Regions from separate parts of the Homo sapiens genome. Here region 2 is linked to region 1. The links are contacts of gene promoters, found by promoter capture Hi-C in blood cells and fetal thymus (Javierre and others, 2016). All regions are on one chromosome and are shown on one strand. The core of a region is centred on a gene start or on the middle of the fragment in contact, and the rest is flanking DNA. Distances in the headings are between cores, read along the strand shown. Region 1 holds the start of SH2D3A (SH2 domain containing 3A). Region 2 holds the start of RFX2 (regulatory factor X2).

Region 1 (6,943 bases), core at 3,518-6,017:
ATTGCCCAGTTCCCTCCCTGCCCTCCCCACTCCCTCTCTCCCCCTCTTCACTGTGCTCCAGCCACACGGGCCTCTTCGCTCTTCCTCCAACATGCCAGGAACATACGGCCCTGCCCCAGGGCCTTTGCACGGGCTGTGTCCTCCACCTTAAGCAACTTCATGGCTAGCTCCCTCACCCCTACATGTCTTTGCTCAAATGCTACCTTCTCATGAGGTCTTCCTAAATCCCCTCATTTCAAATCACAGCCTTTTCCGCATTCCATTAGCTCTACCCACCTCCCTAGGTTAAGCCCTGATCTTTGTCCAACAAATCTGATTTTTTAAGTTATTTTTTTCCTTCCTTCCTTTCTCTCCCTCTTTCCCTCCCTTCCTTTCTTCCTTCCTTCCTTCCTTCCTTCCTTCCTTCCTTTCTTTCTTTCCTTTCTTTCTCTCTTTGTTTCTTTCTTCTTTTTTTTTTTTTGAGACGGAGTCTCACTCTGTCACCCAGGCTGGAGTGCGGTGGCGCAATCTCAGTTCACTGCAAGCTCCGCTTCCCGGGTTCACGCCATTCTCCTGCCTCAGCCTCCTGAGTAGCTGGGACTACAGGCGTCCGCCACCGCGTCTGGCTAATTTTTTGTATTTTTAGTAGAGACAGGGTTTCATCGTGGTCTCGATCTCCCGATCTCATGATCCGCCCGCCTCAGCCTCCCAAAGTGCTGGGATTACAGGCGTGAGCCACCGCGCCAGGCTTCTTTCTTCTTTTTTTTTCTTTTGAGACGGAGTTTCACTCTCGTTGCCCAGGCTAGAGTGCAGTGGTGTGATCAGCTCACCACAACCTCTGCCTCCTGGGTTCAAGCGATTCTCCTGTCTCAGCTTCCCAAGTAGCTGAGATTACGGGCATGCATCACCACGCCCAGCTAATTTTGTATTTTTAGTAGAGACAGGGTTTCTCCATGTTGGTCAGGCTGGTCTCGAACTCCTGACCTCAGGTGATCCACCTGCCTCAGCCTCCCAAAGTGCTGGGATTACAGGCGTGAGCCACCGCGCCCGGCTTTTTTTTTTTTTTTTTTTTTTTTTTTTTGACAGGGTCTCATTCTGTCACCCAGGCTGGAGTGCAGTGGCATGATCTCAGCTCACTGCAAGCTCTGCCTCCCAGGTTTTCCCTGACCTCAGCCTCCCAGGCAGCTGGGATTACTGGCACCTGCCACCATGCCCAGGTAATTTTTGTATTTTCACAGAGACAGGGTTTCAGCATGTTGGCCAGGCTGGTCTCAAACTCCTGACCTCAAGTGATCTGCCCGCCTTGGTCTTCCAAAGTGCTGGGATTACAGGCTTGAGTCACTGTGCCCAGGCTCTTTCTTCTGTCATCCAGGCTGGAGTTCAGTGGCATGATCATAGCTCACTGCAGCCTCAAACTCCTGGGCTCAAGTGATCCTCCCGCCTCAGCCTCCCAAGTAGCTGGAACTACAGGCTTGTGCCACTGTGCCTGGCTAATTTTAAATTTTTTTGCAGAGAGGGGCTTTTACTATGTTGCCCAGGCTGGTCTTGAACTCCTGGCCTCAAGCAATCCTCCCACCTCGGCTTCCCAAAGTACTGGGATTACAGACGTGGGCCATGGCACCCGCTCATCATTGTTTCTTTATTGTCTGTTCAAGAATTTATGTTTCTTTGGTTCACTACTGACCCCTCTCTTATGCAGCACCTGACACATAGGCATGCCCCTTAAATACCTGTTGAATGAATAAATAATTGAAAGCTCTATTGACTGCACCTGACATTTATCCCAAATCCATCCCTTTATCACCATGTCCATGGTCACCACCCAAATCCAAGCCACCATCATCCCTCTCCTTATAGACTACAATAGTGTCTTTTTTTTTTTTTTTTTTTGTCTTGCTCTATGGACCAGGCTGGAGTGTAGTGGCGCAATCTCGGCTCATTGCAACCTCTGCCTCCCAGATTCAAGTGATTCTCCTGCCTCAGCCTCCCGAGTAGCTGGGATTATAGGTGTCACCATGCGTGGCTAAATTTTTGTATTTTCAGTAGAGACAGGGTTTCGCCATGTGGCCCAGGCTGGTCTCAAACTCCTGGCCTCAAGTGATCCACCTGCCTCAGCCTCCCAAAGTGCTGGGATTACAGGCACGAGCCACTGTGCCAGGCCCAATAGTGTCTTTCATTAACTCATTCAACAAACATTTACTGGCTTCCCGGCCATTACCTTATCATTAGCTGAAATCATCTTCATGAGATTAGGTCTCTCTGCCCCCATCCCTAGCTTCCACCCCAGTAGAGTGTAAGCAGGCCCTCCCCCGTCCACCTAATACGTGGCCCTCATCATGGAGTTTCTTTTTAAATTATCGTTATTATTATTCTTAGGAGAAAGTTTCACTCTGGTTGCCCAGGCTAGAGTGCAATGGTGCAATCTCTGCCCACAGCAACCTCTGCCTCCCAGGTTCAAGTGATTCTCCTTCCTCAGCCTCCCTAGTAGCCGGGATTACAGGTGCATGCCACCACACACAGCTAATCTGCTCACAGCAACCTCCGCCTCCCAGGTTCAAGTGATTCTCCTTCCTCAGCCTCCCCAGTAGCTGGGATTACAGGTGCATTCCACCACACCCAGCTAATTTTGTATTTAGTGGAGACAGGGTTTCACCATGTTGGTCAGGCTGGTCTGGAACTCCTGACCTCAGGTGATCTGCCCACCTCGGCCTCCCAAAGTGCTGGGCCCTCTTTTTAAATTATTATAACCACGAGGAGGCGCTAGACCCCTTCCCTGAACATGCCCCTACCCTCTGACTGTACCAATACCAGACCGGTGAGGGATAAGGAAGAAACTTTCTTCCCCTCTTGAGCCTGGAGTCTCTTCCATATTTGCCAGGGCCAGTCGGGGGAGCCCAGTCTGGAAATTCCCTGCTTTGCAACCTACAGGCATCAAAACTTTTCATCCCCAAGCATCGTTGGCCCTCTAGGCCTCAATTTCCTCATCTGTAAAATGGTGGGTGAGTAACTTTCACCGCAAAGCAGCATCGTGGAGAAAGTGGGCATGCGAAGATTGAAAAGGAGGCAGACAGGATAAAGCTCCAGAGCTCCGGGTTTGAATTTCGCCTCTACCACTTACAAGCCAGGTTAACTTGGGCAAATGGTTTAGTTGCCCTGTGCCTCAGTTTCTCCATCTGGAAAATGGAAGTGATGAAAATACTACCTACCACCCTTACAGGGTGGTCTGTTTGAAAATTAAAATAGAGGCCTCATGCCTGTAACCCCAGCACTTTGGGAGGCCGAGGCAGGTGGATCACATGAGGTCAGGAGTTTGAGACCAGTCTGGCCGAGACCCCATCTCTACTAAAAATACAAAAATTAGCCTGTAATCCCAGCTACTCGGGAGTCTACAGCCGGAGAATCGCTTGAACCGGGGAGGTGGAGGTTGCAGTGAGCTGAGACTGCTGCCACTGCACTCCAGTCTGGGCAACGAGAGTGAAACTCCATCTCAAAAAATAAAATAAAATAAAATAAAGGCAAGTTGACAGAACAGCCCTTGTGTACAGTAAGTGCTCAATAAATGTTAGCTGCTGCTACTGCTTTTAAGACTGTGGTTACTGGGGCCAAGCACAGTGGTTCATGCTTGCTTGTAATCTCAGCGCTCTGGGAGGCCAAGGCAGGAAGTTCGCATGAGCCCAGGAGTTCCAGAGCCTGGGCAGCATAGTAAGACGCCACATCTACAAAAAATAAAATAAAATCAGCTGGGTGTGGTGGTGTGCACCTTTAGTCTCAGCTGCTTGGAAGGCTGAAGCGGGAGGATAGCTTAAGCCCAGGAGGTTGAGGCTACAGTGAGCTATGATCACCACTGCACTCCGGCCTGGGCAATATAGCAAGACCCTGTCTCTACAAGACAAGACTGATGTTAATATGAGGAACTCATCAATAAACGTGGCCAAAGAGTCCTCTCTCTTGCACTAGGTCCCTGTCACCTTTTCTCTTGTTCGTCTCCAGGCATCACGATGGAAGTCCCCCCCACCCTTCTTCCCACCTGGGAAACCACCTGAATGATTTGCCTTCCACCTCCACCAAAGTCCCGCCCCGCTCCAGCGTGCTGTCACTGAAGGAAGCTGTCGCGTTTTCCCGGACGTCTCTCCACAAAACCCGCCACCTAAATGGGGCTTCTTTCCGGAAAATCCGGGAGGGCGGTCTGGAGGAAGCGTACCCCTCCTTACGTCACAGCTGCCGCAGCTACCCCAGCCTGGCGTAAGAGCCCGAGGGAGTTGCCCTGCCCTGACCCGGAGCCTTGGCGGGGAGGGGAGAGAGGCACCCCACTCCACCCCGCCCTGGTCCCAAAGGGCCATGGGTGCTTGGGGCCGCCTGGGTGGAAGGGAGGGGCAGGGTTCTAAGGGGCGGGAACGTTGGGATGAAATTTCTTCTATTGCCCTAAGGGGCGGGGCTGAGAAGGAGGTGGCTGCGGGTGGGCGTAGTCATTCGGCGGTGGTCGTGGCTATATACAAGGGGAGGGGCCACTGGCAGGAAAGGATGCGTGGTGCTCCCCTAGTGGGCGGGGTCTATGGAGAAAGCGGTGCGATGCAGAAGGAGGCGTGGCTAGTAGCAAAAAAAATGGTTTTAAGGGGGCGGAGCAAGGGCCTGGGAAGTTAGTTTGAGGCGGGGCCCGCAGGGGGCGGGGTCTGCAGGAGGTGTGGTCAGGTAACTGGGCTGAGTTCCCACTAGGTGTGGTCTGGGAAGGCTGGGGCGGTGGCAAGGTGGAGGGCGGGGGTGACAGCAGCCCGGAGCCGCGGAGCCTCAGCTTCCGCCTGGACCCAGCCTCGTGGGAGCCCCGCGGGTCCTGCCCAGGTGAGTGGAGCCCCAGGGCAGATCCAGAACCAGGATTATTGGGATGGGGAGTCCTCTCTTTCCAGGTGGGGTCACCGGCTCGCAGGGAGGATCTGGGGTAGAAGAGGTCGCCTCGCGAATGAGAGGGTCGCTGTGCGTTACGCGTGTCGGTGTGCTCGGGCTCACCTGGGCGTGCCTCTCTAAGTGTATTTCCTGTGCAGCACAGAAAGCCATTGTTTCCATTTTTGCCTGAGTGATCCTCTTAAACGGCGAATCAGATCGGGCCCCTCCTTCACTTAAAACCCTTGGGTCATAGAGATTAAAATTCAAAGTCCACTAGTTTTTGCCTAGTCTCTCCTCCTGATCTCTCCAACCTCATTGCCCTCCTATCTACTCCTTCCTCATCGTATTCCGGCTACACCAGCCGCCTTGATGATGTAAAATGTAAAAAGCAAGTCCATCTCAGCTCCAGGCCTTTACCCTTACTGTACCCCTCACCCAGGCGACTCCTCCAAATCTTTGCCTAACTGCCTCCTTCTGTACTGAGGTCTCAGTTCCAATGTCACTTTATAGGAGAGGCTGTCCTGTCCAGCCTCCTCTATCACATCTCCCTGGCTTATCACTTTCATTGATAACTCTTAGAAATGGTCTGTCTTCTCCATTCATCTTGTGCTCGTTTGCAGTCTGTCTTGCGCAGCCGACTGCAAGCTCTGGAGGGCAGGGTGGTGCCGAGCTTTAATCTCCTTAGTCACTGTATCTCTAGGTCCTAGAACAGAGCCTGGTGCACAGCAAGTGCTCCAGCAATGGTCGTCCAACGTCAAAAGCGAGTCCTGCCTACATCTGTGTTTGTGTTGCCTGTGCTGGTGGTTCCCACCCTCCACGTCCTCCCCACACGTGGACACATGTTTATGATCCAACTGGAACATGAATAATCCCCTCTCTCCTCTCTCTATGCTTGGTCTGATTCCTGATTCTGCCCGTTTCTTCTCTTCCGTGCCCGAATAAATGATCCCAAAGGACTCAGAGGCAGGAGATGGCTTAGTTGGCCTTTGGCTGACCTATGGCCACCCTGTGTCCTCAAACTAACCAGAACCTTGCCATTGACTCAACTTCACTCTCACTAAGGGAGACACAAGACAGGAACTTGGGGTTGGGAAACTCTGCGACCGAGGCTAGCCCTGGTCCAGGTGACAAACAGGAAGTGCGCAGGCATTGCAAAGACACACCTGGCTTCAGGTATGCGGCACTGGCAGCTGGCTCCCTGCCCAGCGCTCCTCCCCTAAAGCCACCTAGGGCTGGTCTGGGAACTTCCTGCTGACTCAGGAGGCAGGAATTTCTCTGCAGACCCCACCAGAAGACTTTGCAGGGCTGCAGGGAGAGCTTGCAGGAGAGTAAGAAGCAGATTATCTTCTTCTGGACCATCCAGAGAAATCTCCCCCACCAGACACCTGAGACACACTGGCCCTGAGGCCTGTGAGATTATCGGGAAACTACCAAAATGTCTGAGATCCAAATTCAATCATCATGATAACCACATGTATGGGCTCCGAAATAGAAGGATCTGCAAAGGCAACATTGCTGTTTGCTGACATTGCTACAAAATGTGACCTTTTAAAAATCTTAACCCTGGGGTTACATTCTTTTTTTTTTTTTTTTTTTTGAGACGGAGTCTTGCTCTGTCACCCAGGCTGGAGTGCAGTGGTGTGATCTCGGTTCACTGCAGGGTCTGCCTCCTGGATTCAAGCGATTCTCTCTCCTCAGCCTCCTGAGTAGCTGGGACTACAGGCACACGCCACCATGCCTGGCTAATTTTTGTATTTTTAGTAGAGACGGGGTTTCACTGTGTTGACCAGGCTGGTCTCAAACTCCTGACCTCAGATGATCCACCCACCTCTGCCTCCCAAAGTGCTAGGATTACAAGAGTGAGCCACCGCGCCTGGCCCCCAGCGTTGCATTCTAAAGCAAAGAATAGGGGTTAGATCTGCACCTATCCTGAGAACCTCTGAGTGTGCGCATAGGTTGCCGAGAAGCCATGGATGTTTGTAAGTTAAATTCCCCCTGACTGGGATGTTTTTTCACCCAGAGTCACCTGGCACACTCCCCAGAATTCCTTCCAGACTTTACTCAATGAGACCTTTCCTGGTCACAT
Region 2 (7,259 bases), core at 1,323-3,822, 660 kb after region 1:
TGCACTTGGACCTCAATAAATATTTTTGACTAAATTAATAATTGAATGAAAGGGACTGATTACTGTAGACCACTTGAGCTTAAGAATCTGTCACATGGCCAGGCGCAGTGGCTCCTGCCTGTAATCCCAGGACTTTGGGAGGCTGAGGCGGGTGGATCACTTGAGATCAGGAGTTTGAGACCAGCCTGGCCAACACGGTGAAACCCCGTCTCTACTAAAAATACAAAAATTAGCCAGGCGTGGTGGCGCGTGCCTGTAACGCCAGCTACTCGGGAGACTGAAACAGGAGAATCACTTGAACTCGGGAGGCGGAGGTTGCAGTGAGCCGAGATCATGCCACTGCACTCCAGCCTGGGCGACAGAGACTCTGTCTCAAGAAAAAAAAAAAAATTAGAAGATGATGAAATCAATTTAGCAAATCACCGTCAACATTTTAATTAAAATGAAACAGAACAGGAAATATCAGAGTGCGTTAAAGTATCATTTCACGGTACTTTAGTTACAGTATCATTTGTTTTAGTTATAGATATGTTTGTGTGGACTGAGCCCCTAGGTAAAATGTATTTCCTGCTGTATGCTGTGGTCAAAAATGTTTGAAAACCACCCATCTAGTGATCAAGAGCATGGACTTTGGCACTAGACTACTAGGGTTCCGATCCCTCACAAGCTGTTTGACACTGGGCAAATTCACTCATTCTTTCTGGGCCTCAGCTTCCTGATCTGAAAAATGGGGAAAGGCCGGGCATGGTGGCTCATGCCTGTAATCCTAGCACTTTGAGAGTCCAAGGCGGGCGGATCACTTGAGGTCAGGAGTTCCAGGCCAGCCTGGCCAACATGGTGAAACCCCGTCTCTACTAAAAATACAAAAATTAGCTGAGCGTGGTGGCGGGCGCCTGTAGTCCCAGCTACTTGAGAGGCTGAGGCAGGAGAATCACTTGAACCCGGGAGACAGAGGTTGCAGTGAGCGAGCCAGATCGCACCACTGCACTCCAGTCTGGGTGACAGAGAGAGACTCTGTCTCAAAAAAAAAAAAAGAAAAAACAAAACAAATAAAAACGGGGATAATGCCTAGCATCTTTCTAAAGATGCGATTGTAAGATTTAATGAGTTTGCATATTTAAAAAATGCTTAGATCACTTTCAGGCACATAGCAATTTAATCAGTGCTCACTAATATGATTTCTTGTTGAATGAATGAGTGGGGCTGAAGCCTAATCTCCTGCCTTTTCTCAGTACAAGTTGTTTTCTCCTATTCTTCCAGCCCCTTGTCTCGAATAACTATATGTTTACCTCTTTATTCTGTTTGCTGTCAATGTTCCCTCACTAGAATAAAAGTTCTATGAGGATCTGTCTGTTTCTGTCCTACTCGTAGCTGAATCTACCAGCTTGAGAGGAGGGCTGGTGAGTTTGGCAAACATTTTCTGTAAAGGACCGTATAGTAAATATCTTAGGCTTCGCGTGGGACATGCCGTCTTTGCGCAACTACTCCACTCCGCCCCTGTAGTGTCAAAGCAGCCTTCCAAGCTGTTCAAGGAAATGGGCGTGGCTATGTTCCAATAAAGCTTTATTTACAAACCCAAGCAGGCAGAATTTGACCCGCAGGCCGCAGTTTGCCAATCTTTAAACTAGTTCAAAATACTGGGCCCAATACAATAAAAGAGAGTCTCCTATCAGGTTCACACCCCACAAAAGCTCCTTTTGATAGTTTCTTTTTTTTTCTTTCTTTCTTTTTTTTTTTTTTGAGACGGAGTCTCGCTCTGTCGCCCAGGCTGGAGTGCAGTGGTGCGATCTCGGCTCACTGCAAGCTCCGCCTCCCAGGTTCGCACCATTCTCCTGCCTCAGCCTCCCAAGTAGCTGGGACTACAGGCGCCTGCCACCACGCCCGGCTAATTTTTTGTATTTTTAGTAGAGACGGGGTTTCACCGTGTTAGTCAGGATGGTCTCGATCTCCTGACTCCGTGATCCACCCGCCTTAGCCTCCCAAAGTGCTGGGATTACAGGCGTGAGCCACCGCGCCCGGCCGATAGTTTCTTTTAACCATGTAAAAAATATATATATATTTAAATTTTCAGCTGGGGGTCCGTGAAAAACAGGCGGCGAGCGAGAGTTTGCTGACCCCTGATCAGACTGTTCCCACATGTCCCACACTCCTCCTGTGGGGTAAACGGAGTCCCTTGGGTCCCCTAAAACTGGACTTTCCCAAAACGCGCCACCAACCCACGGCGCCGCGCGCGCGACCGGTTCGCCAACCCTCTGAGCCGCGCGCGCCTCCCGCCAAGACCCGCCCCTCTTCGCGGCCATTGGCCGAGTCTCGCACTCTTTTTCAAGGGGGAACGCCTCCTCCTTCCGACAGACTCTGCAGACAGCCAATGGAACGCCGTAGGGTCTCGCGCCCCGCCCTCTTGGGGGCCCGTTGGAGGCGAGCGTGGGCGGGCCGTTAGGAAGGTGGGGCGCGGAGCCTGGTAACCGTTGCCGGTAACAACGCCCCGCCCCGTCGGGCGGGCGGGCTGCGCGAGGCTGGCTGGCGGCGGGAGCCGGAGGAGGAGCGGCCGCCGCCGCCACCGCCGCCGCCATAGAGACTGTAGCCGTGGAGACTGTTACTTACCAACGGGGACCAACACGCAGCAGCCGCTGCCGCCGCCGCGGGAGCCGCTGCCCGAACTCCCGGCCCGAACTCCAGGTGACCGATGCGACCGCCCCGGGCCCAGCCCGGCCGGGGAGTGTGGGGGGCGGCGGGGACCCCGTTCGGGGGCCGGGGGGCGGGCAGCACGTCCCCGCCGCTCACCCCAAACGTCCGGGTGGTGCGCCCGCGGGACCCGCCTCCGCCACCCCGTCCGCGCGCGCGGCGGAGTTTGGGGGGACCCTGGCGACGTCCCCACTTTCCTTATTGACTGAACGCGGGGGAGGTGCGGTGCCGTCGCCTCACTTTTTACAAAACTTCCTGAGGTTGGGGCGTCCGGGGACCCCTTTCTCACGCTTACCTTCAAACTCGCTGAGTTGGGGGCGCCCCGGGAACGTCTCTCAAACTCCTCAAACTCCCTGAATTGGGGGCGCTTGGGGACCCTCTTCTCACCTTAACCCCCTAGATCTCTGAGTTGGGGGCACCCAAGGACCCCTCTTTTACTCATACCCTCGAATTTTCTGAATTGGGGGCGCCAGGGGACCCTCTTCTCACGTTTACTCCCCAGATCTCTGAGTTGGGGGCACCCAGGGACCCTTCTTTTACTCAAACCCTCGAATTCTCTGAATTGGGGGCGCTTGGGGACCCTCTCCTCACTTTTACTCCCCAGATCTCTGAGATGGGGACACCCGGGGACCCCTCTTTTACTCATACCCTCAAACTCCCTGAATTGGGGCCACCTGGGGCCCTCTTCTTACTTTACTCCCCAAACCTCCGAAATTGGGGTGACCCCAGAGCCCTTCTGTCACTCTTAGTCGCAAACTTCTTGCATCGGGGGGACCTCGAAGACTCCCTTCTCATTTTTACCCCAAATTCCTAGATCTGACTTGTCCCGGGGACCCCCTTTTTAATGGACTCCCAGACATACTGAATTTGGGGGCACCCCTGGAACCTTTTTCTCATTCCTTAACTAAAAGCTGGTGCGTCTGCCCTGGGGAGAACCCCTCTTGCCCTTCTCACCTTTTCATCCCAAACTCCCCGAGCGAGCTTCCCCGGGAACTGTTTCTCACCTTTTTGCCCCAAATCCTCGCGTTCAGGTCGCCTCGGACACCCCCTCCCCTTCTCCCTGTGACCCCATATTCCTGAGTATAGGGGTTCGTGCGTCCGCCAGTCTTTCCACGTGCCCCCAAGATGCCCCTCCGCACGTCCGCAGCTCTCCTCTTAGGACTGATCTGGAAGGGAGAAAAGTTTCACCAACGCGAGTGAAACTTTTTTTTTTTTTCAATTTATTTATTTTGTTAAAGAACCTAAACTGCTCCAGGCATTTTCTCCGAGGTAGTGCGAGTGCGTGTGTGTGTTTGTGGATTTAAACTCCACCCCCTGCCCCCACCGCCCACCAGCGCGCTCGCGGGCGCACACACACACTCACACACACACACTCACTCACACCCCAAATGCTCATTTCTTTCTTTTTCCTCCCTCCGAGAAGCCTCCGCGCTCCCTCGCCACCAGCCTCCGGCTCCGTTCCTTTTGGTTTTCCTCGCTGCACCGCTGGGAAAGTTGGATTTCCCGATCCTAGTGGCTATTTCAAGGGCCCCCGAGGGCCCCAAGCGCCCGGGCCATTCTGGCGGCTGCCGGCGCGGTTCATCTTCCTATTTTAACCTCCTGGTTGTGCGGCAAGAATGGGGAGGGGAGAGGGCAAGATGGAGCTCGGGACCCAGGGCTGGCTGCCTTACCCCCGCCCCCCCAGGCTTCATTCCTACTTTGGGGTGTTGTTAGCATTGTGCCTCCCTGCAATTATTTTCCTGCTTTGTATCATAAATGACCAGCGCAGGCTTCGATGAGTTCTTTTCCCTCTCAGTCAGCTTCATCTCTGTATCAAACCTTGTACAAGCTTCATTCTCTGTTTCAACTAAGAGTTCCCCAACAAAGTAACAGTAATAATAATAATGACACAAAACAACAAAGACTTTTTAAAAAAATTTTTGCCTGTACATATTGTTGACATGTATTTTATCTTTTTACATCGTGCCCTGAAACATTGTTTGCTTATGGAAAGATCCTTACCTCCCGTCCTTCTGGATAAGGAGGAGGGGGGCATCTGTGCTTTCTCCTGCTCTAGTTTAAAGACTTGAACTGACTCTAAAATAACCTTAGAAACGACAACTCACCTACTCTGACCAGAGAAGTAAGAGTTTATGGTAACCTCCCTAGGAAAAGAATTTAAGTTCTTGAATTACTAGGGCTTCTTCATCAACAGGCGTGGTACGGAAGGCAACTTATAATGTATGATGGGAAAGATCACTGTTCTGTGATTCTGTGACAGTTCAACGGACTTGGGTTGGGAATGAGTTCTGAAATAGTTTGCTCCTGCAGGAAAAGCAATACTGAAATATTTTAGTTTTTTAAGTTCTTTCTTATAAACCACTGAATCTGAGAAGAGAGAGACAGTTATTACCTCAATAACAGGACAAGTTCTTTGAAATCACTTGATCTTTGCTTTCTGCGTGAAGGGCACGCATTACCTTAATGTATGTGTGATGTATATTTAAATACAACAATATAATATAATGTGTATGTGATGTATATTTAAATGTAAATACTCATCTTTTAACATTGTTTATCATTGAAGTACTGCTAAGGATGGTTCTGTCCACCAGAAATGCAGGTGCTGGGGAATTGTTTATCTGGGTCTTATTCCTTAGATCTAATTGTTTAGTTTTACATTAGCATTATAATTAATAAAAATATTAAATTGGCTTAACTTTAATATTATAATCGAGTCAAAATTTTAAATGCACCTGTGGATTTTTTTTTTTTTTTTTTTTTTTTTTTTGAGACAGGGTCTCACTCTGTCACCCAGACTGGAGTGCAGTGGCAAGATCTCAGCTCACCTTAACATGCACCTCCCAGGCTCAAGGGATTCACCTGTCTCAGCCTCCTGAATAGCTGGGATTACAGGCATGCACCCCCACACCCGGCTAATTTTTGTATTTTTAGTAGGGATGGGGTTTCACTATGTTGGCCAGGCTAGTCTCAAACTCTTGACCTCAAATGATCCAACCGCCTTGGCCTCCCAAAGTGCTGGGATTACAGGCGTAAGCCACCAAACCCGGCCCCTGCACCTGTGGATTTTTGTTTGTTTGTTTGTTTGTTTGAGACAGAGTCTTGCTCTGTCTCCCAGGCTGGAGTGCAGTGGCACCATCTCGGCTCACTGCAAGCTCCACCCCCGAGGTTTACACCATTCTCCTGCCTCAGCCTCCCGAATAGCTGGGACTACAGGCGCCTGCCACCACGCCCGGCTAATTTTTCGTATTTTTTAGTAGAGACGGGGTTTCACTGTGTTAGCCAGGATGGTCTCGATCTCCTGACCATGTGATCCGCCCACCTTGGCCTCCCAAAGTGCTGGGATTATAGGCGTGAGCCACCGCGCCCGGCCGGCACCTGTGGATTTTTATAGTAGCTAGTGATTGTTTTGCTCATAAAATGCTGGGGCCAGAAGGAACCACATCTTATAATATATATTTGTTTCTAAAGTTGACATCTATTTATTAAATATTTAAATATTTTTAAAATATATATTGAAATATTAAAACATGTATATATAATATATACTTATATATTTAAATATAATAAAATTTAAATATAAATATATGTTAAATATAAAACAAATATATTTAAATATTTACAAACATTTAAACAGTATACCCCCATAGGTACCCACTTACTTGTAAAATAGGAAACTTTTGAAAAACCAAGGGAAGTTCTCATCTTGCTTGTCAGGACACTCACTAAACTGCAGGGGAGGAGAATGCGAGTCTGTGGGCCTGTCTCTGAAACTATGGGTCCAGGGCATTCCCACTAAACACAGCCGTATTTCTGAACTGAACTATATGAATATTCACCCGAAGTGGGGAAGAGAAGGACCATAAGTAACTTCATGTCAATTCAGGCCAGCTTTTGTCACCAAGTGAGTCCATGCCAAATTTACAAAAAAATTGCCAGTTTTCAGAGTTTCCTGGATTTCAGTATTGTTGTAAGGGGTTGTGGGCTTATGTATTTTTTAAAAAGATGTTTTGACTCCGTCTCTAGAATTTAAATGGCAATTAGCTCCTCTGCTGGTCATGTTCTCATGTTCTCTCATGTAGACATATGCCTGGTGTAGTGAAAGGTCTTATTTTGTTGGATGGATGGATGGATGGATGGATGGATGGATGGATGGGCAGGCCGATGGAATATACACTGGGAATTAGAGAAAAAACTGAAAACCACCTACTTGCTTCTTGGAAACTCTAAGATCAGCAAAAGGATTCTCCCAGGAAAAAAAATATAGGGGAAGACCCAGAATGAAGTGGGCGAAAGGGATAAGGGTAGGTGAAGGAGGAGTGGCAAAAGGTCCAGAGAGAGGCCCTAACAGGCCTATAGGGAACTGGAGCCTGGGAAGCTCTGGACTGGCTTAGGATTCTAAGCTCTTCTCTGCAGAAAACATCTATCCAGCTGCCTGCTGGGTACATCCAGGTGGATTCTGACAGGCACCTTAAACTTAAGGTGGCCAAGCTGAGCCTGTCATAGTCCCCCCAGATCTACTCCTCCCAAAGCACCCCCCAAACTCGTTGGTACATATCAACTCACTTCTTCCC

What was found. Contacts are between HindIII fragments. The CHiCAGO score rates a contact against its expected background, and 5 or more counts as called.
Region 2: the fragment with the promoter of RFX2 here is called in contact with the fragment with the promoter of SH2D3A in region 1 in 1 of 17 cell types (naive B cells); the score reaches 5.2 in naive B cells.

Annotation. Positions count from the first base shown.
Region 1 is chr19:6,765,259-6,772,201 of GRCh38, reverse strand. SH2D3A (SH2 domain containing 3A) reads left to right here and starts at 4,767. Exons shown (of 10, transcript NM_005490.3): 1 at 4,767-4,815. RefSeq lists a silencer at 4,229-4,288 and an enhancer at 6,377-6,943. The HindIII fragment of the contact is 16,777 bases long and covers 1-6,943 here.
Region 2 is chr19:6,105,813-6,113,071 of GRCh38, reverse strand. RFX2 (regulatory factor X2) reads left to right here and starts at 2,572. Exons shown (of 18, transcript NM_000635.4): 1 at 2,572-2,679. RefSeq lists a silencer at 2,251-2,710 and an enhancer at 3,558-4,058. The HindIII fragment of the contact is 2,952 bases long and covers 1,564-4,515 here.